Linked DNA regions of Homo sapiens: all the other regions are linked to region 1. Evidence: promoter capture Hi-C in 16 types of primary human blood cells and fetal thymus (Javierre and others, 2016). All regions are on one chromosome and are shown on one strand. The core of a region is centred on a gene start or on the middle of the fragment in contact, and the rest is flanking DNA. Distances in the headings are between cores, read along the strand shown. Region 1 holds the start of AP4S1 (adaptor related protein complex 4 subunit sigma 1). Region 2 holds the start of DTD2 (D-aminoacyl-tRNA deacylase 2). Region 3 overlaps HEATR5A-DT (HEATR5A divergent transcript). Region 4 overlaps HEATR5A (HEAT repeat containing 5A). Region 5 overlaps HEATR5A (HEAT repeat containing 5A). Region 6 overlaps HEATR5A (HEAT repeat containing 5A). Region 7 overlaps HEATR5A (HEAT repeat containing 5A).

Evidence for each region. The method cuts DNA at HindIII sites, captures the fragments that hold promoters and counts their contacts. A CHiCAGO score of 5 or more calls a contact.
Region 2: a contact is called between a fragment that was not itself captured here and the fragment with the promoter of AP4S1 in region 1, in 2 of 17 cell types (naive CD8 T cells and neutrophils). The highest score is 5.5, in naive CD8 T cells.
Region 3: a fragment that was not itself captured here is called in contact with the fragment with the promoter of AP4S1 in region 1 in 1 of 17 cell types (neutrophils); the score reaches 5.9 in neutrophils.
Region 4: a fragment that was not itself captured here is called in contact with the fragment with the promoter of AP4S1 in region 1 in 1 of 17 cell types (neutrophils); the score reaches 8.0 in neutrophils.
Region 5: a fragment that was not itself captured here is called in contact with the fragment with the promoter of AP4S1 in region 1 in 4 of 17 cell types (non-activated CD4 T cells, neutrophils, M0 macrophages and 1 more); the score reaches 7.1 in non-activated CD4 T cells.
Region 6: a fragment that was not itself captured here is called in contact with the fragment with the promoter of AP4S1 in region 1 in 1 of 17 cell types (naive CD8 T cells); the score reaches 5.1 in naive CD8 T cells.
Region 7: a contact is called between a fragment that was not itself captured here and the fragment with the promoter of AP4S1 in region 1, in 3 of 17 cell types (non-activated CD4 T cells, naive CD8 T cells and M1 macrophages). The highest score is 6.2, in non-activated CD4 T cells.

The regions. Positions count from the first base shown.
Region 1 is chr14:31,023,306-31,026,898 of GRCh38, forward strand. AP4S1 (adaptor related protein complex 4 subunit sigma 1) reads left to right here and starts at 2,344. Exons shown (of 6, transcript NM_001128126.3): 1 at 2,344-2,482. It overlaps STRN3 (striatin 3), which reads right to left and starts at 3,074. Exons shown (of 18, transcript NM_001083893.2): 1 at 2,599-3,074. The coding sequence starts at 2,880. RefSeq lists enhancers at 2,023-2,122, 2,193-2,302, 3,413-3,572 and silencers at 2,292-2,473, 2,613-2,872, 2,963-3,282. The HindIII fragment of the contact is 24,948 bases long and covers 1-2,408 here.
Region 2 is chr14:31,456,786-31,460,378 of GRCh38, forward strand. It overlaps DTD2 (D-aminoacyl-tRNA deacylase 2), which reads right to left and starts at 721. Exons shown (of 3, transcript NM_080664.3): 1 at 498-721. The coding sequence starts at 608. RefSeq lists enhancers at 1-325, 326-911, 356-565, 706-885. The HindIII fragment of the contact is 1,929 bases long and covers 936-2,864 here.
Region 3 is chr14:31,438,731-31,442,323 of GRCh38, forward strand. The region is part of intron 2 of HEATR5A-DT (HEATR5A divergent transcript); the gene reads left to right. Among named protein-coding and RNA genes, the nearest start is that of DTD2, 17 kb to the right of the region's middle. The HindIII fragment of the contact is 2,993 bases long and covers 255-3,247 here.
Region 4 is chr14:31,398,657-31,402,249 of GRCh38, forward strand. HEATR5A (HEAT repeat containing 5A) reads right to left here. Exons shown (of 36, transcript NM_015473.4): 3 at 1,645-1,856; 4 at 17-125. Among named protein-coding and RNA genes, the nearest start is that of HEATR5A, 20 kb to the right of the region's middle. The HindIII fragment of the contact is 2,024 bases long and covers 759-2,782 here.
Region 5 is chr14:31,378,955-31,382,547 of GRCh38, forward strand. It overlaps HEATR5A (HEAT repeat containing 5A), which reads right to left. Exons shown (of 36, transcript NM_015473.4): 11 at 1,513-1,624. Among named protein-coding and RNA genes, the nearest start is that of HEATR5A, 40 kb to the right of the region's middle. The HindIII fragment of the contact is 5,231 bases long and covers 1-3,593 here.
Region 6 is chr14:31,344,923-31,348,515 of GRCh38, forward strand. HEATR5A (HEAT repeat containing 5A) reads right to left here. Exons shown (of 36, transcript NM_015473.4): 19 at 2,826-2,985; 20 at 165-354. Among named protein-coding and RNA genes, the nearest start is that of HEATR5A, 74 kb to the right of the region's middle. The HindIII fragment of the contact is 235 bases long and covers 1,528-1,762 here.
Region 7 is chr14:31,325,030-31,328,622 of GRCh38, forward strand. HEATR5A (HEAT repeat containing 5A) reads right to left here. Exons shown (of 36, transcript NM_015473.4): 23 at 1,134-1,313. Among named protein-coding and RNA genes, the nearest start is that of HEATR5A, 94 kb to the right of the region's middle. The HindIII fragment of the contact is 1,459 bases long and covers 1,163-2,621 here.

The DNA of each region.
Region 1 (3,593 bases), core at 1,094-3,593:
TGCTTTACCTGAGTCTAAGGTAAGGAAGAATCAGAGACAGAAGAGCTTTAAGATGTGATCCTTTAGTTTGGTTCCAAGTTTCTAAGACAGACCTTTACTCTAAATTCTTTTTACAGAGAACAGAATCATACTGTAAAGTTCCTTTTAATATCTTTCCCAAAGCCAGGGAAAATATTATTCCCCATTAAAATTTTACATCAATATGGGGTATTCCTTAAGCTCTTCACGTTCTCTATTGAAACTATTCAATAATTAACACTTTAAAAATCTGTGTACATGACAGTGCACTGGAGACTGTACATAATAATATGTAAGTTGTCTTATTTCTAGATTGTCTTTCTTAAAAATAGGTTTAAGTTTACAGTAAAAATCCACTGATGCTTCACTACACCCTCCCACAAATATGTATTCAACACATACATTTTAAAATACGCATCTCACAAGCAATCTCAGTAGACTGAAGGCACCTAAAGCAAACTAGAAACCTTATTAAGTTAACCCAATAAAACATTTTAAATATATAACTCAAAAAAAAAAAAACCAACGCCATCATGAACATTTTATTCCAAAAGAATCAGTATGAAATAAAAAAGAGTCTAGAAACACTGTAGGACTTCTTCAAAACAAGGAAACAAACAAAAACTTAGGATGGCTAATAACAGTACTGTACCAATAGAATTGAAAGCAAGCAAGCAAGCAAAAGGAATCTACCTTAAAACACTGCTGCTGCTGTTAAGGAGACCTAGAAGGGAAAGCAAATGCTAGAGCAGGCAATAAAGGCTTCTTTAATATATAGTATAGGTTTTACTAATTTGGGCACAAGATATCTTTCTTCTCAGCTGCTTACATTAGTGAAGTTTATGGGTGAAAAATGCAATTGCTAACTTGAAGAGTGTTGAAATCCAAACTTGCATACAACAGTACAAAGGTCTAAGAAACCATAGCAGGGACTGGTGAAGTATTATTTAGTGAGCTTAGGCCTTACTGCATTTGTCAATCCAAATTTTAAAAACAAATGCCTTACTTACTTTACTCACACAGAAAATTAAGTTTGCAGTATGTAGTAGAAAGCTGTATACCAACAGAATTCTATAAATTTTAAGTATGTTAAAGCAGACTGTACACAACTTAAACCAGTTTTGACTTCAGCTTTTTTAAAGTTATGTAATTTTAAAGCCCAATATTATATCAAAACACAATTGTAAAGCACTGAAATGACTAACAAGTGTTACTTTTTTTTAAGACTTCATACAGTGTCAAAATACCCAAGTATTTTTTACTTTTGAAAAGTTTAACTTCACCCACTTTGTGGAGTCATATAAAAGTTTACTAGTTCAGAACCAAACTAAAGAGATGCATATTTGAGGACACCCTTTCTAGTTAATCCAATCCTCCTCCTTTCAGCACTACATTTGCCTAACGATTCACCATAGGCATATGACATATATGACAGCAAATACTGCTTACCCCCTAAATACACAACAGTCTGAAGAACAGGTGCAATACTATTTAGACACACGCTTTTTCCTTCTAAGCCTAAATTTGCCCTGGAAAGGTATTTAAAAATAAACACAAATACCCAAGAAAGTTAAATAACCCTTTCAAAAAGATGCAGCAATTTTGAGATCCAGGACATGAGCTGTTAACTACCAACAGCTTCCAAATGTGCAGCCTATCAAAGGTTCACATTATGAGGATCGAGTCAAGCTCAACTATGAAGGGTTCCGAGAACATCTCACTTTGCTTCTCCTGCAAGAGTAAGTAACATGATATAACTACGTTTCACTTCAAGGGAATATTAAATCTCTTCAGTCGTTTCATAAATACAGCATCGATCGTCTGGTTTGGTTTTTTTATAGATAAAGAAACGGATGGGGGAAAGGAGATCTAGTGGAGAGTACTGTAAAAAGAAAAATTCAGTGCTGAAAGCGTTGATGAGTCACTAAGTAAGGAATAACTACAGAGAATCCAAGTGAGTAAGGCAGCATCTCAGGTGAGAAAGTACTTAAAGTTGACGATGGGAAATAAAACTTCACAGGTCAGTCCCAAGTCACTGTGCACCCTAGCAGCCCAGGAAAGAAGCGTGGCTGTCAAGGGGCAAGCGCGTACCAAGTCTGAGGGAGGGGGCCAGATACGCCAAATCGGAAAGGGGGGTGGTCCGGAAAAGGGGGGTAAGATGCCTATCCTAGTCCCTCTCTTCGGGCTCTTCATCTCAAGAGGAACAAACAAGAGCAAACTCAGTGTTGAGAGGCCCCAAACCGGACTCTCCCACAGAGAGGTGCTCGGTCCCAAGCCCCGGAGGCCCGGGAAGGCCGCCTCCGGAGGAGCCCCCGCAGACGCCATACTAAAAGCCAAAATGGCTGCCCCGAGGAGGCCCGCACCGCGTAGCCAGTGAAGGTTGGGGAGCAAGCTTATGCGGGAAAGAGGGAGGGGGACTCCAGGAAAAGCCGTTGAGAGGACCATCACAACCTGAGCAGCACAGGTAGGTTCCGCTCGGCCTCCCAAGGCGCCGGCTCCGGCTGAGTGGAGTCCCCAGCCCCACCCCCCGGCCGGGAACCCAGCCGCCGCAGCTCCCGCACACCGACCCCAACGAGGTACCTGCAGTTCGGCCCGTTCCACCTCCCAGTGCGCCCGCTCCATCTCGAACCGAGCCCACTCGTGCTGGATGTAGTGCAGTATCCCCGGGATAGTGTACTGCTGCGGCCGGGACAGCTCGGGGCCTGCCGCGGGACCCGCTCCCTCGGAGGCCGGAGGACCCCCGCCGCCCGCCGCTCCGTTCCCCCCGGGCGAAAGGCCCAGGTTCCCCCCAGGTCCCTGCTGCTGCCGGGGAGGGGCCGCCATCCCCGGGCCGCCACCACCGCCTCCGGCAAGCTCGTCCATTGTGTGTGGGGCCCCGGCCGGGGCGCAGGGCGAGACGCCGACAGCTGGGGGAAGGGCCGGAGAGGGTGGCCCCGCGCTGGCTGCGGGGCGGAGGCCGGCCGGGAGAGGGGCGGGGAAGGGGTCGTTGCTGTGTGCCTGCCGTGGGTCAGAGCAGGGAGCTGCCGGCTGCCGCCATTACAATCCCTCCTCCATCTGCCCGTCTCACTCACTCACTTTAGGGGAAGGGGGGGCCTCGGCGGGAGGGGTGGGGGGAGAGTTGGGAAGGGGATAGGCGGAGGGCCGTCACTAGCGCACAGCATGCTGGGTAGCGAACGCAGCCTCACGCTTAATCGCCAAATAGAGTCCGGCCTCACCCTACGCCGGCGCACTGAGAACGCAGCCCGGGTCGCCGTTAGAGGGCGGGGAAAGAGCTCGGGCTCCGCCCCTAGGCCCGCCCTCAGACCCGATCCGGTGTCTGGCCGCAGCTACCGGACACCTGGGCTCCGACTCTGACTTTTGGAAGCGAGGCGGCCTTAGGCTTCCTGGTTATCAGTTTCCTTTTAGCAGGCCGTCCCCGGGCGCTGTTTCCTTCCCAGGGGTCTCTCACCCGTGTCCCGGCTTTCTGAGCTGGTTGTTAACCTGGCTGGTCGCTCTGGCCGACCGCATCCCGTCTCGGATTCCTGACGTTTCTTTTTCATTCTTTGAGTGTTTCAGGCAGTCCCAAGGGTGGGCCC
Region 2 (3,593 bases), core at 650-3,149, 430 kb after region 1:
AATTGGTCAAAACTTTTAAAAGGCTTCTTGAAATAGAATTGTTTCTTAGGAAATCTCATTTCTATGCTAAGACCAAGTCAACATAGGGGGGAATTCGACGCGATCTGAGGCGTAAGTCAAAGCAGATCATGAACTCTTGCAGCAAACCTGACCTACAAGCTTGCCCCCGACCAGCATAGACCACGAGCTGCAAGGGGTCTGAGACAGTAAGGCCTGAAGTTCACCGAACTCAGTTTCAAATACCTGTGGTCCCCCCAAGAAGGGAGACACGCTCTTCCTCTCGGGTGCTACAACTGGCGCTGGGGAACGGTGATGCTGGACCGAAAAGACAAGCGCAGCCAGGCAGGCCACCGCGGCCAGCTTCAAGCTGACCCGGTATCCCCGCGGCCGGACCGCCGGTCTCAGAGGGAGACACAGAGCGGACGAGTCACCGAGACAACGCGGAAAAAACCGCCCCGCACGCCGGAGGATAACGAGAGCTGCCGGGCTGACGTTACCTCCACCCACTGGGCCGCGACGTCCCCATCGGCTGGGCGAATTTGCAGCCGGGCGTGCAGGCACTGCTGTAGGAGCGCCCGGGCCTGAGGAATCCGGCTACCCTCAGCCATGGCTTAAGCCAGCGCCGCGGCCGGACAGTTACTAGGCCATGTGTCGCTGGCCCCTCCCTCGACGCGCTGGCGGGGCAGACGAGGCGGGGCACGACGAAGGGCCTGCGCCGATTGCCCAGTGGCCCCGCCCTTAGGAGGGCGGGGCCTCGGACTGACTCTCGAATGTCCCGGATGTGCGGTCTTGGAGGCCGGCGTAGCGCTAAGCTTCTCGGCAGCACCTGCCCAACTCTGTAGAAGGCGCTCAGTGTATACTTTTATTAAACGATTGAAAAGACTCGTTAAATCTCTTTCCTACAAACCTTTTAAGAAACATTTTTCACCTCAGAAAGCTTAGGTTCCAACTGTTGAAAAATTTTAAATCTGCTTGATTTAAATTCATGTTATGCCCATATGAAAGTAAGTAAACAAATAATCGAATCATAAAGCAAGCGGAGATGGAACTAAAAGCTATATATACATCCTTCAAAATTTTCCTTATTCCAATCAATAAAAACAATGCTGCCTCCTCTATCGGGAATGCCATAAATTATTCTGATTCCACAGTTGTGAAAAGGTATTGGTATGCTATACGAATACACATTCTTTAGAAGATATCCTTGTTAAAAATGTTCTTATCCAAGAAAGTATGATTGTTAATAACTTAGCCCGCTACTAATACAAAAATAAAACAGCTTATTCTGATGCATATGACGTAAATTCTGTGATGCATTTTCTGGAAGTACATATTAGAATGTAAATAAAACTAAACAAGGGCTTGATTTTCTTTCCCATGTAACGTATTCCTTAAACATGCATCAGATTAGCATTTATTTGTCTATGGGCTTGGATGGTTTAGATGAGGAATAATAGTGTTACCCTGATTGCATTACCCAGGTCATTGATTTGGGCTCAGTTGACACAATGTGCCTATACATTCGGATCTGTTGTTTAAAAAGATGACATCACTGACAGTGTTGCTATCCATACAAAGTAGTGTGACTGAAGAAAATAGTCCATGCATAATCAACAGTCCTTTGTACACAAAATCGAAGCTGCTTGTTTGCTGGTTATCTTGCAGCCAGGTTTACACTTTTAGTAAAAACAGAAAGCAAAATCTCACATGATCTCTGATTGTTGCATTGCAGGGATTCCAACAGTTGTTGACATTTGTCTGCAAAGCACAGACAAGTTGAATTGCTTCATGTCTGCACCTTTATGTCATTATAACTACTGAGTCTCTTTTCTCTCCGGCTCTCAGATTCAGATTTTACAGGCCTGAAAGAAACTTTGACATACAAACCATTAGCTATGTCCCAGAATAAGAAAAGACTTTGGTGTCCATTTGTATGTGGCTGCAGGAAATAGGGAGGTCTATAGAGAATAGGTTATGTGGTTCGCAGAGATCTTTCTACAGAGAGGGTTTCTTTAACAAATTGGGAAACCCTTCCTGTGAGTAGAATAGATGGAGTATGGATGGTAATGGTTAGCTTCTCAAAAATCACTAATTACTTTAAACCCTCCTATTGAGTGAGGATCTCGTGGACATTGCTGTAGGTACTGTAATAGGCTGTGGCTCACTTATTTTTTACTTCTATTTGCAGAAGGCTATAGAGAGTGGCCACCAAAGACAGCATTTCCTTTCTGTATTTTATTTTTTGAACACTTAGTTTCATTCTGCAAATAATTTAAGAAGGAAGGACATGCATGCAATAAAATAGTAAAATGTGAATTAAAGCATTAGAAATAAAGAAACTAGAATTATGTCAGTAAGCCACAATGGGGGAAATTGAAAACAGGTAAGACAGTGGTTCTCAACTGGAGTGCTGAGATGATATAGTATGCAGCAAAATTTTCACAAATGTATAACTTTAATTTTTGTTATAAAACAATTATGTTCATTGTATGTAGTATTGAGGTGCTGTAGGTTGTACAATTTGTTTCAAGTTGGAACTAAAGGCAAAGCATAGCATTAAGTTGGCTTTACAAGAAGATGGTGGTTCACTGGAATGTGAGAGAGCTTTGCCTTGTCATTGTATGAGAAATCATTGAGCAGAGATAATTCTCAAACACCTACAATGCTGAAAGTGTACCATATGGATAGGGGATTAATTGTGGATGGGTTCTATGTCCTCTGAGATGGTACAATAACTAATTTAGTGTTATTTTACCTTCTTTAATTCATTTAAGTTGGCTGCCCTAAATTCTGGCATTCAAAGTATTTCACAAACATGAAAAGTTTGAGAACCATTTCTAAAAGATTCCTTAGAGTTGATGCTAAGCTTCCTGGTTGTAAATAGGAGAGGATAGGGAAGGGCAGTATAATCTATTTCATAGTTCTAGGGATAAGCAGAGCTTTTCCTCAGATTTAGCTCTCAGCTGAGCCTCTTACCTGAGACTTTATATAGGATATGTTAATAAATACAAGTGCAGGCCTGGCGAGGTGGCTGATGCCTGTAATCCCAGCACTTTGGGAGGCTGAGGTGGGTGGATCACGAGGTCAGGAGATGGAGACCATCCTGGCTAACACGGTGAAACCATTTTTAGTCTCTACTAAAAAATACAAAAAATTAGCCAGGCGTGGTGGCGGGCACCTGTAGTACCAGCTACTCGGGAGGCTGAGGCAGGAAAATGGCATGAACCCAGGAGGCAGAACTTGCAGTGAGCCGAGACTGCGCCACTGCACTCCAGCCTGGGCAACAGAGCGAGACTCCGTCTCAAAAAAAAACCAAAACAAAACAAAACAAAAAAAAACCAAAAAAAAACAAGTGCAACTGGAAGAGGTAGGTATCTTATCTTAGGGAAGACAGTATCTAGCCCTCTAGTTTAAAGCCCAGATATTTTTTTTTCTAGTTTAAAGCCCAGAGATTTATTTTTTTTTGAAAAAAAAAATAATAACCAGGTTCTGAGAAATTGGTTAACATTAACTAAAATGCACATTAGATTGGGGTAGAACCAGAATACTAATTTAGTCATTTACAACAAGAAATATTGCCATGACATGGAGTA
Region 3 (3,593 bases), core at 501-3,000, 410 kb after region 1:
CATATGTGCAGCTAACTTCCAAATCTATATCCCTTGCCTTAATCTGTCTCCTGAAATATACTGATATGAGGCCCAAAAGGAGGGAAATATGTTTTATCTTTGTATCTCTTGTTTTTGTATCTACTTGTATACTTGGTATACAAGTAGACTCTAAATAAATTCTTGTTGAAGAAACTATGCCTTTTTAATTCTGAGTGTGAGGGAGCTAAAGTCCAAATTTTTTTCCATTGATTATTGTGTAAATCACTGTTGTAAGCTTCTTAATGATGGTCACTGCGCAGTATACTTACCTGTTTGGTTATAATGCCTACCAGTGCTTTACACATACAAGGTAGCAAGTATCTCACTCATTAAATCTAGTAATAATTGCAAATATTTATCAAACTGAGTAGCAGTGGTTCAGTATTGAAATGCTTGCAAAATTTCTCTTTCCTGTTTCTAAATTAAAACATAAGGGGAAAATATGGGAATTAATATGGTATCATGATAATCCTATACATATTTTAGGATAAACACAAATCTGTGGGCCATATAGTGATGAACACTTTCTGGTCATAAGACCTCAGTAAAATAGAACATGCCGATAAAATTTTCAGAAAAGTCTAGGAAATAGCAAATTTATATCACCACTGGGGGGAAAGGGATTTTTTAAAAAAAAACCTTGTTGAAGCATATGGGCACTCACTATTATTTATGAGATGATAGCAAGTGTACTGAGTAACATTTTAAACAATATTCTGAAAACATCTTGAAACAAAAATTCAGCGCAGATTTATAAAGCAAAAAAAAGCAATCTAACACCAACGTGATTGAGGACACAAAATTTAATCATTGCTTAAAGATTATCAGATATTTCTCTTTCACTATTGAACGGAGATTTAATACTTGCAGTAACTTCTGCCAACTCAGAACCCTGAGAAAATAAGTCACTTTCTTTACAGAAATAAGAAGAAAAAAAAGGATATTACCAACAATGGAAGAGGAATGCAGAGTGGCAACAGCTCCAAGTGGACCTGGCAGACTATGAACACTAGAATCACCAAGGAAACATGGAGCTATGAAATGGCAAAAGGCTGTGTGAAAACCCTGACGCTTTTTGGTTCAGCCTTTAAAAACCAAATGAAAACTCAAGAGATACAAGAATGTGGTTATTTTGATGAACAACTCACAAACTAGTTGAATTAAAAGAAACTGGTTCAAATGAACACAAACCTAAACATTTTTTCAGTTCGTCTAATTAAAGTCTAACCAATTCCTTCTAATTTAAAAGATCCAGTTTTGGATATATCCAAGACTAAAACACAATCTTATCAAAGTCTATTTAATATGGTGTAAATCTCACGGGAACTGTGACTATCTTCTCTCCCAGTCTAAACCTTGTGGCTTTTCTGATTGCTTTTTATAATGATTGATGTTCATATCTCTCGCTTATTTTATAAGAAATAAAGAAAACAAAGATCATAAACTCACACACAGAAAAATAAAAGACACAGTTTTTTGTTTGTTTTGTTGAGACAAGGTCTCACTGTATTGCCCAGGCTGGTCTTGAACTCCTGGGCTCAAGTGATCCTCCTGCCTTGGCCTCCCAAAGTGCTGGGATTACCACACCTGGCCAGCAATACATTTTTAAATGAAGATTCACTACCCTAGCCAAAAGTGTCTTCTCCTTCTGCAGCTATTTTATTAATAAAACTCACTGATAGCATTGTCCAGACATCAGAGACCACATACTACCTAGTGCATTTTTGTGGCTAATGTGTCCCCTACTAGATGGTAAATTCCTTGGGGCTAGTGATCATATCTTAAACATTTCACACAGCCCCTAGCTACACTGCTGACCTGCAGATTATAAAGACCACAACATTTAAGTGGAAAGCAAGTATCCATTATGCAGTATTAAGCAAATGTTAGATTTTCAACATATGGGTTTTAAAAGGCAAATATGTATATAATGAAAAGAAGTAAAAGCCCTGTGGCTGGGTGGGGTGGCTCACGCTTGTAATCCCAAAACTTTCGAGGCTGAGGTGGGTGGATCACTTGAGGTCCGGAGTTCGAGACCAGCCTGGTCAACATGGTGAAACCCCATGTCTCAGGATGGGGAACATCACACACCGGGGCCTGTCGTGGGGTGTGGGGAGGGGAAGGGATAGCATTAGAAGATATACCTAATGTAAATGACAAGTTAACGGGTGCAGCACACCAACATGGCACATGTATACATATGTAACAAACCTGCACGTTGTGCACATGTACCCTAGAACTTAAAGTATAGCAATAAAAAAAAAAAAAAAAGAAACCCCGTGTCTACAAAAAAATACAAAATTAGGCCAGGCGCAGTGGCTCATACCTGTAATCCCAGCACTTTGGGAGGCCAAGGTGGGCAGATCACGAGGTCAGGAGTTTGAGACCAGCCTGTCCAAAATGGTGAAACCCCATCTCTACTAAAAAAATAAAAAATTAGCCAGGCGTGGTGGCCAGTGCCTGCAATCCCAGCTACTCAGGAGGCTAAGGCAGGAGAATCACTTGAACGTGGGAGGCGGAGGTTGCAGTGAGCCAAGATCACACCATTGCACTCCAGCCTAGGCAACAGAGCAAGACTCTGTCTCAAAAAAACAAAAAGCAAAAAAAACCAAATTAGCCAGGCATGGTGGTAGTCACCTGTAATCCCAGCTACTTGGGAGGCTTAGGCAGGAGAATCGCTTGAAGCCCAGAGGCAGAGGTTGCAGTAAGCCAAGATCGCGCCAAGATCGCACCAAGATCACTCCAGCCTGGGCGACAGTGAAATGTGTCTCAAAAGAAAAAAAAAAAAAAGAAATAAAAGCCCCGAGGACTTTCAGAATGTAATCAGAAGAAAAAATAATGCAGGCATTGAGCAAACTAAACTTAAAAGATGGTCATGTTTGCTCATAGACATACCTTGGGGCTGCTAAGGAAATCAGAAGAATGCCAGGAATAGAAAGTGTGCCTTAGCCTATCTACATTAGTACAAGGTTGAAGTAAACAGTCTCTCAAAGTTGGAGCCAAGGGTTACATTTTCGCTAGTATGATCAGACATTTTCTAAAAAAACTCCATACCTTCCCTTAAAACAAAAAAAAAGCCCACAATTACTTTCCCAACCTCAAATGTTTATGGCAATAATAGCTAATGGTTCTCAGATACTGTTATACAGGGTGTGGTGCATTCTCCACATAAATTCTTCTTTTCACATTCAGATAAAAGGCTGATGTAATAGGTCAAATTTTATTAAGCTTCTTAAGAGAAAAATGCTGACTAACCCAGTGTGAAGAATTCATTCACATGGAAAAGTCCAGTAAAAAGAAGTAGGGTCATATTTATCTTAAAGTTGGCTATTTGTGATGTATCCCACATAACTGCTTTATTTTGTGATTAAATATAGAAGGGTTTTAATAAATCTTGTTTCATCAAAATTCATATTTGTAAACAAAATAAAGATATTTTTGCATCATAGAAAGTTTGCTTTATGAAAAGACTCAAATATAGGTTTGTTTGTTTGTTTTTTTTTCTTATTTTGAGACAGAGTATTGCTCTGTCGCCCAGGCTGGAGTGCGGTAGTGCCATCTCGGCTCACTGC
Region 4 (3,593 bases), core at 521-3,020, 370 kb after region 1:
ACTTGTAATTACTTACCTCTGCACTCTTCATAGCTTTAAGAATATTCCCCACTGTATCAGTAAAGGTGTTACCCAGTATTCTACCCAACTTCTTGTACAAGGAACCCAAACATACCACAGCAGCACTGAAACAACATTTAAATTAGAAATTAGTCACAGCTGAAAAAATAGGAATAAAAAGATCTTAGGATATGTAAGGATAACTGTTGAAAAATATCCCCCATTCTCTTGTCTTTTTACTTTCTTTGTATTATCCTTTGAAACACAAACATATTTAATTGTGATGAAGTCTCATCTATTTTTTGTCAGTTGTGCTTTTTGGTGCTGTGTCTAAGAAACACTGCCAAAGCCAAGGTCACAAAGATTTACCCCTATGTTTTTTCCTATGAGTTTTACAGTAATAGCTGTTACACTTACATCTATGATCAATTTTGAGTTAATTTTTTATACATGGTGTAACAGAAGAGTCCAAATTCATTCTTTTGCATGTGGACATACAGTTATACTGGCATCATTTGTTGAAAAAGTGACTATTTTAAATTTTGCTTTGAAAGGATAAAATTTCTAAGAATCTATTCTGTGGTTAAATCCTAAGGCACGACACTTAGGTGAATATGATTATACTTTCAATAATAAGGATGTATCAATCTGTGATTACTCTACTATTCAGCCCAAAGATTACACACCCTCAAGTTTGTTACAAAATTCTACAAAATATTTCAACAGAACTCAGCTACATATTAGATAACAAAAAGATAAGCTTAAAGATAAAAATAAAAACAAGAAATAATGTTCTCATCAAGTTTGAAATCTGAAAACTTTATGGGGGAATACATTCTGTTATAAGGTAAAAATGAGACCAACAAAAACTTTATAGAATTATGACATGGTGGCCAGGTGCAATGGCTCATGCCTGTAATCCCAATACTTTGGGAGGCCAAGGTGGGTGGATCACTTGAGGTTAGGAGTTTGAGACCAGCCTGGCCAACATGGTGAAACCCCGTATCTACTAAAAATACAAAAATTAGCTCGAAGTGGTGCCATGTGCCTGTAGTCCCAGCTACTTGGGAGGCTAAGACAGGGGAATCGCTCGAACCCAGGAGGCAGAGGTTGCAGTGAGTCGAGATCACGCCACTGTACTCCAGCCTGGGTGGACAGAGATTCTGTCTCAAAAAACAGGAAAAAAAAGAAATATTACATGGCTCATTGCCTTTTTAAAGATAATAGGTGATAAAATGAACTAAATCCTATAGAGAAACTAAGCTGTTCTTTTTAGGATCTTAGCAAATACTTTTCTACATGATATTTACTATCAATTTTCATAACCAAGAATGAATAAATTATAAAAGCATCCAAAAATGTGAAGAATTTAAAATATCTTTCTTAAACACTCAACTGCTAAAATTTTAGGAAGATGTTTTGAATCTCAAATCTAGACTTCAAATACGTCTAAAGTATTTGTAGAATTGTTTCTCAGCAACTAACATGAAAAGTGTTAGTTTCTTTTTTAAGTTAGATTTTGAAAATGAGTAAAACTGAGTTTGCATTCAGTTTCAAAGTAAATGTCAAGTACTATGGGTACTTCATAAAAATACAACAGGAAGCAATATTTTGTTTTCTGTTCTGTTTTAATGTTTCACTTACAGCTTAGTGGGAAGATAACTTGGAGAATCATCTTTGCTACGAATAAGATCATTACATTTATCGATTGCTTCATGAACGGAGAATGTGTCTCCAATACTATAAAGTATGGCTAGATTCTTAGCAAGCAGTTTGCGGGTAGGAGGCCCTGGGGAGCTGTTCAACAAAGACAGGAGCTGTTCAACAAGAGTCTTCTGTTTCTCCCTTACATCATTCTAGAAAGAAAGATAACACAAAGACAATTCAAAGTCAATATAATTATCTGTAATCCCCTAATATAATTTTTCTTTCATATATTTAAGAACTAAAAAGGCTCTAGAAAAATACAAACTTACTTTGACTGGAAGTTACAAATAAGTTGGTAGTGTGGTCATTATGCCAGACTAATCAGGTAGTTTGCTGCCCTGCTAATAATAAAAAAGCCCTCCAAAAATTCCGAACCACATTACACTGCAATCTCTGTTAACAAATATAAGGGCTCTATGTATTCGAAATCTTTCTTCTTTTGTTTGAAAGGCAGAGCAAATTTGTATTATTATTATTATTGTTTTTTTTTTTTTGAGATGGAGTCTCGCTCTGTCGCCCAGGCTGGAGTGCAGTGGCCCGATCTCCGGTCACTGCAAGCTCCGCCTCCTGGGTTCACGCCATTCTCCTGGCTCAGCCTCCCGAGTAGCTGGGACTACAGGCGCCCGCCACCATGCCCGGCTAATTTTTTGTATTTTCAGTACAGACAGGGTTTCACGGTGTTAGCCAGGATGGTCTCGATCTCCTGACCTTATGATCCACCCACCTCGGCCTCCCAAAGTGCTGGGATTACAGGCGTTAGCCACCGCGTATTATTATTTTTAATAGAGACAATGTGAAATGGTTTGGCTCTGCATCCCCACCCAAATCTCATGCTGAATGGTAATTCCCATGTTTCAGGGGAGGGGCCTGCTAGGAGGTGATTAGATCAAGGGGGTGGATTTCACCCATGCTGTTCTTGTGACAGTGAGTGAGTTCTCACAAGATCTGATGGTTTAAAAGTGTGTGACACTTCCCCGCAACCCTTCCTGCCATGATGTGAAGAAGGTCCTCACTTTCCCTTCGCCTTCTCCCATGACTGTTTAAGTTTCCTGAGGCCTCCCACTCATGCCTGTTAAGCTTGCATATCTGTGCATTAATTAAACCTTTCTTCTTCATAAATTACCCAGTCTCAGGTAGTTCTTTATAGCAGTGTGAGAACGGACTAATACACAAGGTCATACTATGTTGCCTGGGGTAGAGTGCAATGGCTATTCATAGGAGCAATTATAGTGCTACACTACAGCCTCAAATTCCTGGGCTCAAGCAATCCTCCTGCTTCAGCCTACCATGTAACTTGGTCTATAAGCATGCATCACCATGTCCAAATTTGTATTTTCAACTACAGCATCTGAGTTACTAATCCTACACCTCCCTCATATATAGCTGCATAAAGCAGTAAACTATAATCTATAACCAGAGCTGACCTTGTAATGGCTACCTGTTTTATTCAGGTCTATTCCTAAGTGTAGGGCAATTTTCTTTTTGCAAGCTTACGTATATAAATGTTAATAACATTATTCCATTTTCCTTGTCTGCTATCTGAATAAAGAGTACACAGTATCATTATAAAGCTAATGGTATTCAGGTGCTCAATGAGGCCTAAAATTCCACAATAAAATATTTGTCAGTGTATAGAATTTTGTCTTTTGTTTTTTTTTCCCCAAATCTAGAAGTTGCTTTTTTTCCCTCTCTTAAAGATCAGCAAACTTGTCAAATATTTTGATAACTAGAGTCACACAGCTCCCTGTTGTCTCAGAACAAGAATGTGTTTTGGAATGCTACTATTTTAAATTCATAAATAAAATGTCTTCTGTTAAATTCTAAATGTCTCCATGAGTAGTGTTTTTCTACCACTTTGGAACTGCATATAGTACTGTGATTATGTG
Region 5 (3,593 bases), core at 516-3,015, 360 kb after region 1:
TTTTTGAGACGGAGTCTTGTTCTGTCACCCAGGCTGGAGTGCAGTGGCATGATCTCAGCTCACTGCAACCTCTGCCTCCTGGGTTCAAGCAATTCTCCTGCCTCAGCCTCCCCTGTAGCTGGGACTACAGGCACATGCCACCATGTCTGGCTAATTTTTGTATTTTTTTTAGTAGAAGCAAGATTTCACCGTGTTGTTGGCCAGGCTGGTCTTGAACTCCTGACCTCAGATGATCCGCCCGCCTAGGCCTCCCAAAGTGCTAGGATTACGGCGTGAGCCACTGCGCCCGAACTATTCATTTTTTGTTTTATTTTGAGAGGGAGTCTTGCTCTGTCACCCAAGCTGGAGTGCAGTGGTGCAATCTCACTTCACTGCAACCTCCACCTCCTGGGTTCAAGCAATTCTCCTGCCTCAGCTTCCCGAGTAGCTGGGACTACAGGCATGCACCACCATGCCCGGCTAATTTTTGTATTTTAGTAGAGATGGGGTTTCACCTTGTTGGCCAGGCTGATCTTGAACTCCTGACCTCAAGTGATCCACCCGCCTCAGCCTCCCAAAGTGCGGGGATTACAAGCGTGAGCCACCATGCCCAGCCTCAGCCAGTTGTTTTATATCTAGCTATAACTTGTATGACAACAGAGACTTAAAATATAGGTGTGATAGAGTAATAAAATTAAGTTTCATTAGCACCATAAGACTGGGCAAAAAATAAATAAATAAAGTTTTCAGTGGCTCATGCTTATAATGCCAACACTTTGGGAGGCCAAGGCGGAAGGACTGCTTGAGCCCACAAGTTCGAGACGAGCCTGGGCAACATAGTGAGACCCCATCTCTACAAAAAAAATTTTTTTAAATTAGCCAGGCATGATGTTGCATGCCTATGGTCCCAGCTACTTGGGAGGCTTAGGTAGGAGGATCACTTGGGCCCAGGAGGTCAAGGCTGCAGTGAGCCATGATCATGCCACTGCACTCCAGCTCGTGTGACAGAGTGAGACCCTGTCTCAAAAATTTAGAGGATATAAATAGTCATGACTGTAAAACAATTACTGTTTTTTAATAAATATAATTTAAGTAAAATTCATCCCCTTCAATGTAGCAACCTTATTGGCTGTTATGAATCCTCAAACAATTATAGAACTGGATTCCCAAGCTATGGGTATGTTCTTTTGCCTATATTGTGGAAATGTTTTTTTCTGAAGATGGATGTCAATGATTTTTGAAAAAGCCACAGTTGTTCAGAGTTAAGCCTGAAAGATGATTAGTAACTCGGCTTATCCTACTTGAGGCTTATCATCTAGCCCGGAAGAGAAAATCAAGAGAGATCTCAAAAGGTTTTAAGCAATGACGAAAGTAAAAGGCTTTTTAAGGTGACTACTACAAGAAAAATGTTTGTGTGGCTATTTAAATTCTGGTATGTATTAAAAGTTCATTTCATCAAATCACATATAAGAATCATTTCACTCAGAAAACACAAAGTATTTCAAGGTATGTAAACCTTCTACAGACTGTTACCTAATGTCATCAGAGCAGAAATCAGCAACCATCCAGCTTGTGTGCGCTGAGCTGAAAGGCGACTGTTTTGAGCAGCAGAACACAGCAAATCCTCTGCTAATGTCATAATAATCTATTTACATATAGAACAAGTTTTAAAAAAAGCATATCAGTTTATAAATTACTAAATGATAGCAGCTAACAATATCTTGAAAAATTAATTCTTACATAAAATAAATGTAAACGATAAAGAACTGTCATTCGTGTAGACTACATAATAGGACTGTCATAAAGGAAACTATAAAAAATTAAGTTTTCAAGGTTAAATACTGGTATATGAGGTAGTACACAACAATCCCATAATTTTTTGTAGAACACATGTGACAACAATGTAAGATTATTCAAGTATAGCTGTATAGAATTTGAATTTACTTTTAGTTTTGAGCAACTATCCTTTTAAATCCATAATTATCCAAAAAAAGTTTTCTTACAGGAGTCTCTCTCTTAAAAATGCTACATACAGCCAGGTGCGGTGGCTCACGCCTGTAATCCCAGCACTTTGGGAGGCTGAGGCGGGTGGATCACAAAGTCAGGAGATCGAGACCATCCTGGCTAGCACAGTGAAACCCCATCTCTACTAAAAATACAAAAAATTAGCCGGGCGTGGTGGCACATGCCTGTAGTCCCAGCTACTCGGGAGGCTGAGGCAGAAGAATCGCTTGAACCCAGGAGGCAGAGGTTGTAGTGAGCTGAGATTATGCCACTGAAACTCCAGCCTGGGCAACAGAGTGAGACTCAGTCTCAACAACAAAAAAAAGCTACATACTACTTTTGTAACTCAGTAGCTGATAATAGTCTTCCAAGAGGTAGTATACTATAGTGGTTAGAGGTAGTCAAAATAGTCTCATACTGAAGAGTGAAATTTATTAAAATGTTATAGTAAAAAAGTCTATGAGGCTGGGCACAGTGGCTCATGCCTGTAATCCCAACGACTCAGAAGGCCAAGGTGGGAGGACCAATTGAGGCCAGAAATTCAAGACCAGCCTAGGAGTGAGCTAGGATCACACCACTGCATTGCAGCCTGGGCAATAAAGAAAGACCATGTCTCCTTGGAAAAAAAAAAAAAAAAAAAAAAAGGACCAGCCTGGGCAACAGAGTGAGATCCTATCTTCACAAAAAAATAAAAAGAATTAGCCAGGCAATGGAATTACGTGCCTGTAGTTTCAGCCACTTGGGAGGCTGAGACGGGAAGATTGCTTGAGCCCTGGCATTTGAGGCTGCAGTGATCTATGATCTCGCCACTGCACTCTGGCCTAGGTGACAAAGCAAGACCCTGTTTCAAAAAAAGGGGTCCATGTTATAAAACAACAGAGAAGAAAAACAGGACATTTCACATTTATGGATAATGTATGCTTACACAGTACAAGGCCAGAGAGCATCTAATATGAGAAAACACCTATTACCAATCACCTCTGAAAAAGCAGGAAGTATTATGAGTTGGCATATAAATTTTCTAAAGAAGAAGGCTAGTGTATTTTAAACCAACCAACCAACTTACTACTAATTTAGGACTCCCTGCAGCTCATACAGTCAATGGATAGCACTCAAAAAGAGTGAGGACAAAACAAACCATTCTAGTCAAATCAGAACAAGTGGATAATTCTCTCGGAAAGAAATTCCAAATATAATATGGGAATGGGAACCTTGTCTGAATTAATGAGATATGAGAATAGGTTTAATTAAATACATTGAATGACAAGTCTTTGCTTAGCAAGATGTGATGTGTTAAGAATATAACTAAAATAATAAATTTAAATAATCTCATCTTCCAAAGTTGTCACCTACCTTATTTCAGTGGCATTGGCAATACTCAAAATATTTTTGGAATTGTTCAAGTTATGGAATGGTCTTCTGCAGAGCCTACACTATGGTGGATATACTATCAAACTCCATAATGACACAGGAGTGGCAATGAGAAAGAAAGGAATAATGGTGTATTTTTTTAAATATATTTACGAGTTTGTGAGAAGTATGGGTTAGAAGGGCTTTCACTGTCAAATAATGTTCTCTGACAACTTACAATTCCTAGCTATTAAAAAAGA
Region 6 (3,593 bases), core at 395-2,894, 320 kb after region 1:
CTCTGTCTTTTCAAGGTAAGAGAAATCAGGCTGAATGGCATTTATACATTCATTTAACAAAACATACAGCACCTATCACGTGCCAAGCATACAGACTAGGAACTGAATTCACTTTTATGTGTATTATTTTTAATGTAAAACATCACAAAAGCAGCTATGCACACCTTGTAGCTCTGGACCTAACGTGGTAATAAGGGCATTCAAACAGCGACCAAGGCTTTGGTGAACTTCAGCATGAGTAGGAGGCACATTTAACAACAACATTATAATAAGAGAAAGGGTAGGTTCCACATGCACATAATAGAGTGGGCCAGCAGAATCAATGATCAATGATAGAGAATGTAATGCCCAGGTCTGTAATGACAAAGAAAAACAATTAAAAACATTACAGCAGCATTAAGAAACATAAAATAAATTAACTTGTTCTTTTGTTGAAGCAAGTGATAAAGTAACAGCAAATGTGAATGCTACTACTCATGTGGAAAGAGAAATGGAGGACTTCCAACTCAGAGGCAATCATCCAATTTAGAATGATATAGTTCATCATTAAGAATTGCAAGTAATAGTTGGTACTTCAGCTAACAGTTTGAATCAAATCTAGTTTGTTGAAAAATTGTTTATTGTTTAATCTATAGAAAGAATGAAAATTCAAGTTTTTAAAAAGATTCAACAAAATCTACAATTACATTCAACAATATGGACAAATCTCTTGAACATAATGTTGAGTGAAGAAAACCAGACATAAAAGAATATATGTTGTATGATTCCATTTACATAAAGTATAGAAGCAAGCAAAACTAATTTATGCTGTTGCAAATTAGGATAGTGGTTATCCTTGGTGGGGGCAGGTAGTTAACTAGAAGACAGTATGAGAAGTGTGTATGGGGTATTGATAATGGACTGTTTCTTGATTTCGGGAGGTGGTTACATAATGTACTGTTTGTACATAGATATGTGCATTTATGGCAGGTGCGCACACACATGCACACACGCACACACACACACACAATGGTTTAAATGAAAAAAGACTGGTCATATACTGATAACCACTGAAGTTAGGTGATGAGTATAATAGATTCATTGCAGTATACTTTCTAATTTTGTGTACGTTTTAATGTTCTATAACAAGAAGTAAATTAAAAGCTCTCTCTTCAGAAAATGAACTGAAAAAGTTTTATTCCTCTTATCAATGGATGTATAAGAAAGCTTACAGTACTTTAAATGCTGCAAAAATGAGCTCCTATTTGTTAGGTGAGAGAGAGCAATCAAGAAAATTCAGAAATGACACTGACAGCCACAGAAAGTATATGAATTAATCAACAAAAAAGGTATTCAATATACAACTAGGTACATTCAGAATAGACTTCTTGAAGAGAGAGAAGAAGAATATAATAGAAGCAAAAAGTACTATATATAAAGACGGGTGAAAAATGGAAACCTTGTAAGTCAATTCAGTCAAGTACTAGATGAAGTGGAGGAGGCGAGTAGTAATATGGTAATTCAGAGGGGGAAAGCTAACTGGATTAAAGCTTGGTGAGATGGTGGTTATACTGGATCTTAAAAGACTAAAAGATGTGGAATATCAAATAGGCATGTAAGGAGAGAAGAGAAAAAGAAAAGGTAAATGTAGACATGAGAATGACATGTGGATAAATCATCTGTAGAAGTCAACACTTTGAGGTAGTAACAGAAAACATCTGTGGGGTCAGTTGATGGGACTGGAATAAAGAAGTTGATTCAAGAAGCAATAAGCACTTTGTCAAGCTTTTCTGCAGGAAAGTGGCAAGATGAAAATCTTTTAGGAAAACGAATTTAGCCTTATATCTAGAGAGAGTTCGAAAGAAAAGGACCTAAAAATGTGACGAATTAGGAGGCTATGACAGTAATTTGGCACACATTAATAAGGGAGACAGATAAGACGACAGAAGGGGAGTAAAAGAACGGGAGAAATAAAAATCATTCCATATTTGATTAAGATAGGAGAATGATGATTTTACTGACAGAAATAGGTAAGATATGTACAACGATATGGTAAAGTGGTTAAGAACAGGAGTTTGGAGTCTATGACTTGTGTTCTTGATCTGATTCCATGATTTATTAGCTTTTCAGTTGTGAGCAAGTTGCTTAGCTTCTTAAGCCTCAGTTTTATTTCCCCATAATGGGCTATATACACCCTAATAAATTATTACAAGGACTAAAAGAATTACTATGAGACTTAGAAGAATGTATCGTAACACCTGGTACCTATTAAGCTCTTTAAAATAGTAGATGCTGTTATTATTATTTATTACTATTATTATTATTTTTGAGATAGGGTCTGGCTCTGTTGCCTAGGCTGGAGCATAGTGGCACAATCTGGACTTATGGCAACCTCTGTCTCCCCGGCTCAAGCCATCCTCCCACCTCAGCCTCCTGAGTAGCTGAGACCACAGATGCATACCATCATGCCCGGCTAATTTTTGTATCTTTTGTAGAGACAGTGTTTTACCATGTTGCCCAGACTGGTCTTGAACTCCTGAGCTCAAGCAATCTGCCTGCCTCGGCATCCTGAAGTGTGAGAGTATGTGCGTGAGCCACCACTTCTAGCCCAAAGCTATCATTAAGATGGAACAGAGATACATTTTCAGAAAAACACACTGAAATTGACTTCAGACTCTGAGTGTGGGGGAAGATTTTAATTTTAAAAATCCACCAAGGTTAACAACGGCTTCCACAATTACTATGGGAGGAAACTATATTCATAAATTATTAATGTTCAATATAAACACAATCTGCATCATCTAAAAATCATGAATTTCAAGGGAAGTATCACATGAGGTACCCACCTGCACATCAGGAGAAGTGCTGTCCTGCGCCAAAGTATAAAGGATTCCAATACAAGAATTTAGGTGTTGAGAAGAACTTATTCCTCCTAAATACCTATGTAGGGACCCCAAGGCCAATGAGTGTCCTGTTCTGGTAACCACATCCCTTGCTGATTTCAATCTGTAAATATAAAAATAAAAATAAACGGTAATCACTGCAAAAGAAAAAAAACACAAAAACTAATGCATGTACACTGTCACTTAGGCAAAACTTTTTATATGGATAGTTGCAAAATTTAGAAATACATTTTTGGCTAACTAATAAAAACTTCTGAAGTAACCGAAAGGCATCTTGCAAAGGAAAACATTTTGAATCAAAATGTCCTCATATTATTAATGATTAGTTTAGTATGAGCAGTTTCAATGTCTTTCATATATATACATGAAGAAGGTTTTTAAGATAAGCATTATTATTACTTTATCATTAAGTTACATTTTAAAAACTCAAATGCTGAGATACTTTAATTTCATAGAGTTTCAACTTAATTTTGATGTTAAAATTAAATAGGCTAGGTGTGGTAGCTCACGCCTGTACTCTCAGCACTTTGGGAGGCCAAGGCGGGAGGATCACTTCAACCCAGGAGTTTGAGATCAGCCTGGACAACATAATGAGACCCTGTCTCTACTAAAAAAAAAAATTGTTTTAATTAACTGGGCGTAGTGTCACAAGCCTGTAGTCCCAGTCACTCGGGAGGCTGAGGCTGGAGTATTGCTGGAGTCCAGGAGTTC
Region 7 (3,593 bases), core at 642-3,141, 300 kb after region 1:
AGTACAGTGGAAGGCTTGTGGATTTTAAAAGTTGTGTAGGCGTAGGACTGAATCTGTCTATGTCTTCAGGCAGGTTACCTCTCCAAGCCTATTTTCTCTTCTATAAAACAGAATAAAATTGTCTATGCATAGAATGGGTTAAAGGCTTAAATCAGATAAATTATATACAGTTCTTGGAAAATAACTGGTTTTTCTCTTCTCTCTTCCTCTCATTTATTTTCTCTCTTACTCCAAGGATACAAATTTTAAAGATTTGAATATACTTTCTCATGAACAATTATCTTGTATTACTAAAGACATTAGGGTAATAACAGTTTTCTAATACTACTTGAAATTAACATTATTGTATGTAGTGAAACTGGCTTGCTCAAAATGTCATAACTTTGTATAACTTTCTCTTATGGTGACTAAGTAATTTCATACGGTGCGAGGGGTGGGGTGGGTATGTATGAACATATGTATGTATGTATGTATGTATGTATGTATGTATGTATGTAGAGACAGGGTTTCACTCTGTTGCCCAGGCTGGAGTGCAGTGGTGTGATCTTGGCTCACTGCAACCTCTGCCTCTCGGGCTCAAGCAATCCTCCCATCTTAGCTTCCCGAGCAGCTGGGACTACAGGTGTGAGCCACCAGGCCCAGCTAATTAAAAAAAAAATTTTTTTTTGTAGAGATGGTGTTTTGCCACGTTGCCCAGGCTGGTCTCAAACTCCTGGACTTGAGCAATCTGCCTGCCTCAGCCTCCCAAAGTGCTGGGATTATAGGGGTAAGCCACCACACCTGGTCTCAAATATTTGTTGTATGTATGAAAAGAAATGATGGGAACAATATACATCAAGTCACACCTTTTAGGGCATAAACAATAACTTTACTTTTTAATTTGTTTTATATAGGAAAGTCATCTAAGACAGCCAAAGGGAAAAAGAGCAGGCTTAAGTATTGGATTTATATTGTTCAAATTACAGAGAATTCTAAAACACTAGAAATACAATCTTCATTTGAAGAAAAGCAACAATCAGACAGTCAGAATCCAGCTAGTTAGACAAGACTGATGAATTCTCAGTGGTAAACAATTTTATGTAAAGTTTCAAATTTCAATTTTATTATTTTAACTGATAATGTCCAATACTTACCAGCTGATGCAGCAAGTACATCTTTACAAAGCTTTAACCACAGGGAGAGTTTTTCCACTGCCATAGATGTAAGCATATAATTTAAAGTCTCTTTGATATCATGGCATAATCTCTCATCTGTCTCCTTGTCTAGTAAGATCAACAATGCCCCCTCAAGGCCAACTTCTCTGATGTTAGCATCTGACAAGAAGAAAATCAATTATCTAAGTAATACAGAAAACAAAACTACCATATCAGAAGCTCACACATTCAGTAGTTATTCAAATAGTAGATAAAAATACATCTTAAAGAACTAGCCCAAATACTGTGCTTTAATCTACTGAGATCCATTTTAGTTCACACTTGAATTTTGGGATTTATGATCCTATATAGCAGTATTTTATGTAATGTCACTGAAAAAAAGTATTCATATGTTATTATTAATATGTTTTCTTAATCAGGTAAAAAGTTTTACCCAATTAGTGTCCAATACTTACAAAATTTTTTTTTCTTTATTCGAGACAGAATTTCACTCTTGTTGCCCAGGCTAGAGTGCAATGGCACGATCTTGGCTCACTGCAACCTCCGCCTCCCAGGTTCAAGCAATTCTCCTGCCTCAGCCTCCCTAGTAGCTAGAATTACAGGCACCCGCCACCACGCCCAGCTAATTTTTTTTTATTTTTAGTAGAGATGGGGTTTCACTACGTTGCCCAGGCTGGTCTCAAATTCCTGACCTGAGGCGATCCACCCATCTCAGCCTCCCAAAGTGCTGAGATTACAGGTGTGAGCCACTGAACCCAGCTCAATACTTACAAATTTTATTCAGTGCTTAATTTTTTTTTTTTCCTTTTGAGACAGAGTCTCACTCTGTCACCCAAGATGGAGTGAAGTGGTGCAATCTCGGCTCACTGCAACCTCTGCCTCCCGGGTTGAATTGGTTCTCCTGCCTCAGTCTCCTAAGTAGCTGGGACTACAGGTGCCTGCCACCATGTCTGGCTAATTTTTGTATTTTTAGTAGAGACGGGGTTTCACCATGTTGGTCAGGCTGGTCTTGAACTCCTGACCTCAAGTGATCCACCCACCTTAACCTCCCAAAGTGCTGGGATTATAGGCGTTGAGCCACAGTGCCCAGCCTCCAGTGGCACTTTTTTTTTTTTTTTTTTTTTTTTTGAGACCGAGTCTTGCTCTGTTGCCCAGGCTGGAGTGCAGTGGCATAATCTTGGCTCACTGCAACCTCCGCCTCCTGAGTTCAAGCAATTCTCCTGTCTCAGCCTGCTGAGTAGCTGGGACTAGAGGCGACCACCACCACGCCCTGCTAATTTTTGTATTTTTAGTAGAGACGGGTTTCAACAGTGGCCAGGCTGGTCCCGAACTCCTGACCTTAGGTGATCCACATGCCTAGGCCTCCCAAAGTGCTAGGATTATAGGCATGAGCCACCACGCCTGGCCCAGTATAATTATTTTCTAGTTTTAAAAAAACATAATTAAGTTTTCCTTATTCTGGTATAAAGCTTTAAAATATATTAACGTGAGAGTAAAGCTCAAACAGAAAACAAACACTATATGGAGAACACTGTTTAATTACTACAACTAAGCTATTGTGGACTACTGAATAAACATATATCACTATACAATATTCTCACTACAAAGTAATACCTCAAAGGGGAAATACTAGCCTTGATCTAGCATCTACTATTACCTTTAATTCTGAAAATGCCAAAAGGACAAATACATTTTCTCTTGAAGAGTTAACTCATCTAGCATTTATGAAAGCATGTAGATTTGAAAGGTTATATTATTAGTAGACTATTCTATTTATTTATTGTTTTGGAGACAGAGTCTCGCTCTGTCGCCCAGGTTGGAGTACAGTGGCACAATCTCACTGCAATCTCTGCCTCCTGAGTTCAAGCGATTCTCCTGCCTCAGCCTCTCCAGTAGCTGGGATTACAGGCATGTGCTACCATGCCCAGCTAATTTTTTTTTTTATTACCTTGTAGAGACGAGGTTTCACCATGTTGGCCAGGCTGGTCTCGAACTCCTGACCTCAGATCCACCCGCCTCAGCCTCCCAAAGTGTTGGGATTGTAGGAGTTAGCCACTGTGCCTGGCCTTTGTGGGTGTTTTGTTTTGTTGGTACTAGACTATTTTAAAAGAGAAATTATCTTTTAAATATTAGAAGGAGGTGATAGAAATGTTTCAGATTAGGGATCTAACAAGATATAATAGCTAAGGTAATGTGAGTCATGACTGGATCTTAGATTTAGGTGGCAGTGAGGGGAGAGGAATCATAAAGGACATTTTTTGGATGACTAGGGAAATGTGTGTGAGGGCTGCAAATCAATATTGATTTTCTTAGGTGTGTGATCATGTATGGGTATGTCCTTTGCATTAGTCCATTTTCATACTGCTATAAAGACATACCCAAGACTGGGTAATTTATTTAAAAAAGAGGTTTCAGTCCAGGCACAGTGGCTCACGCCCA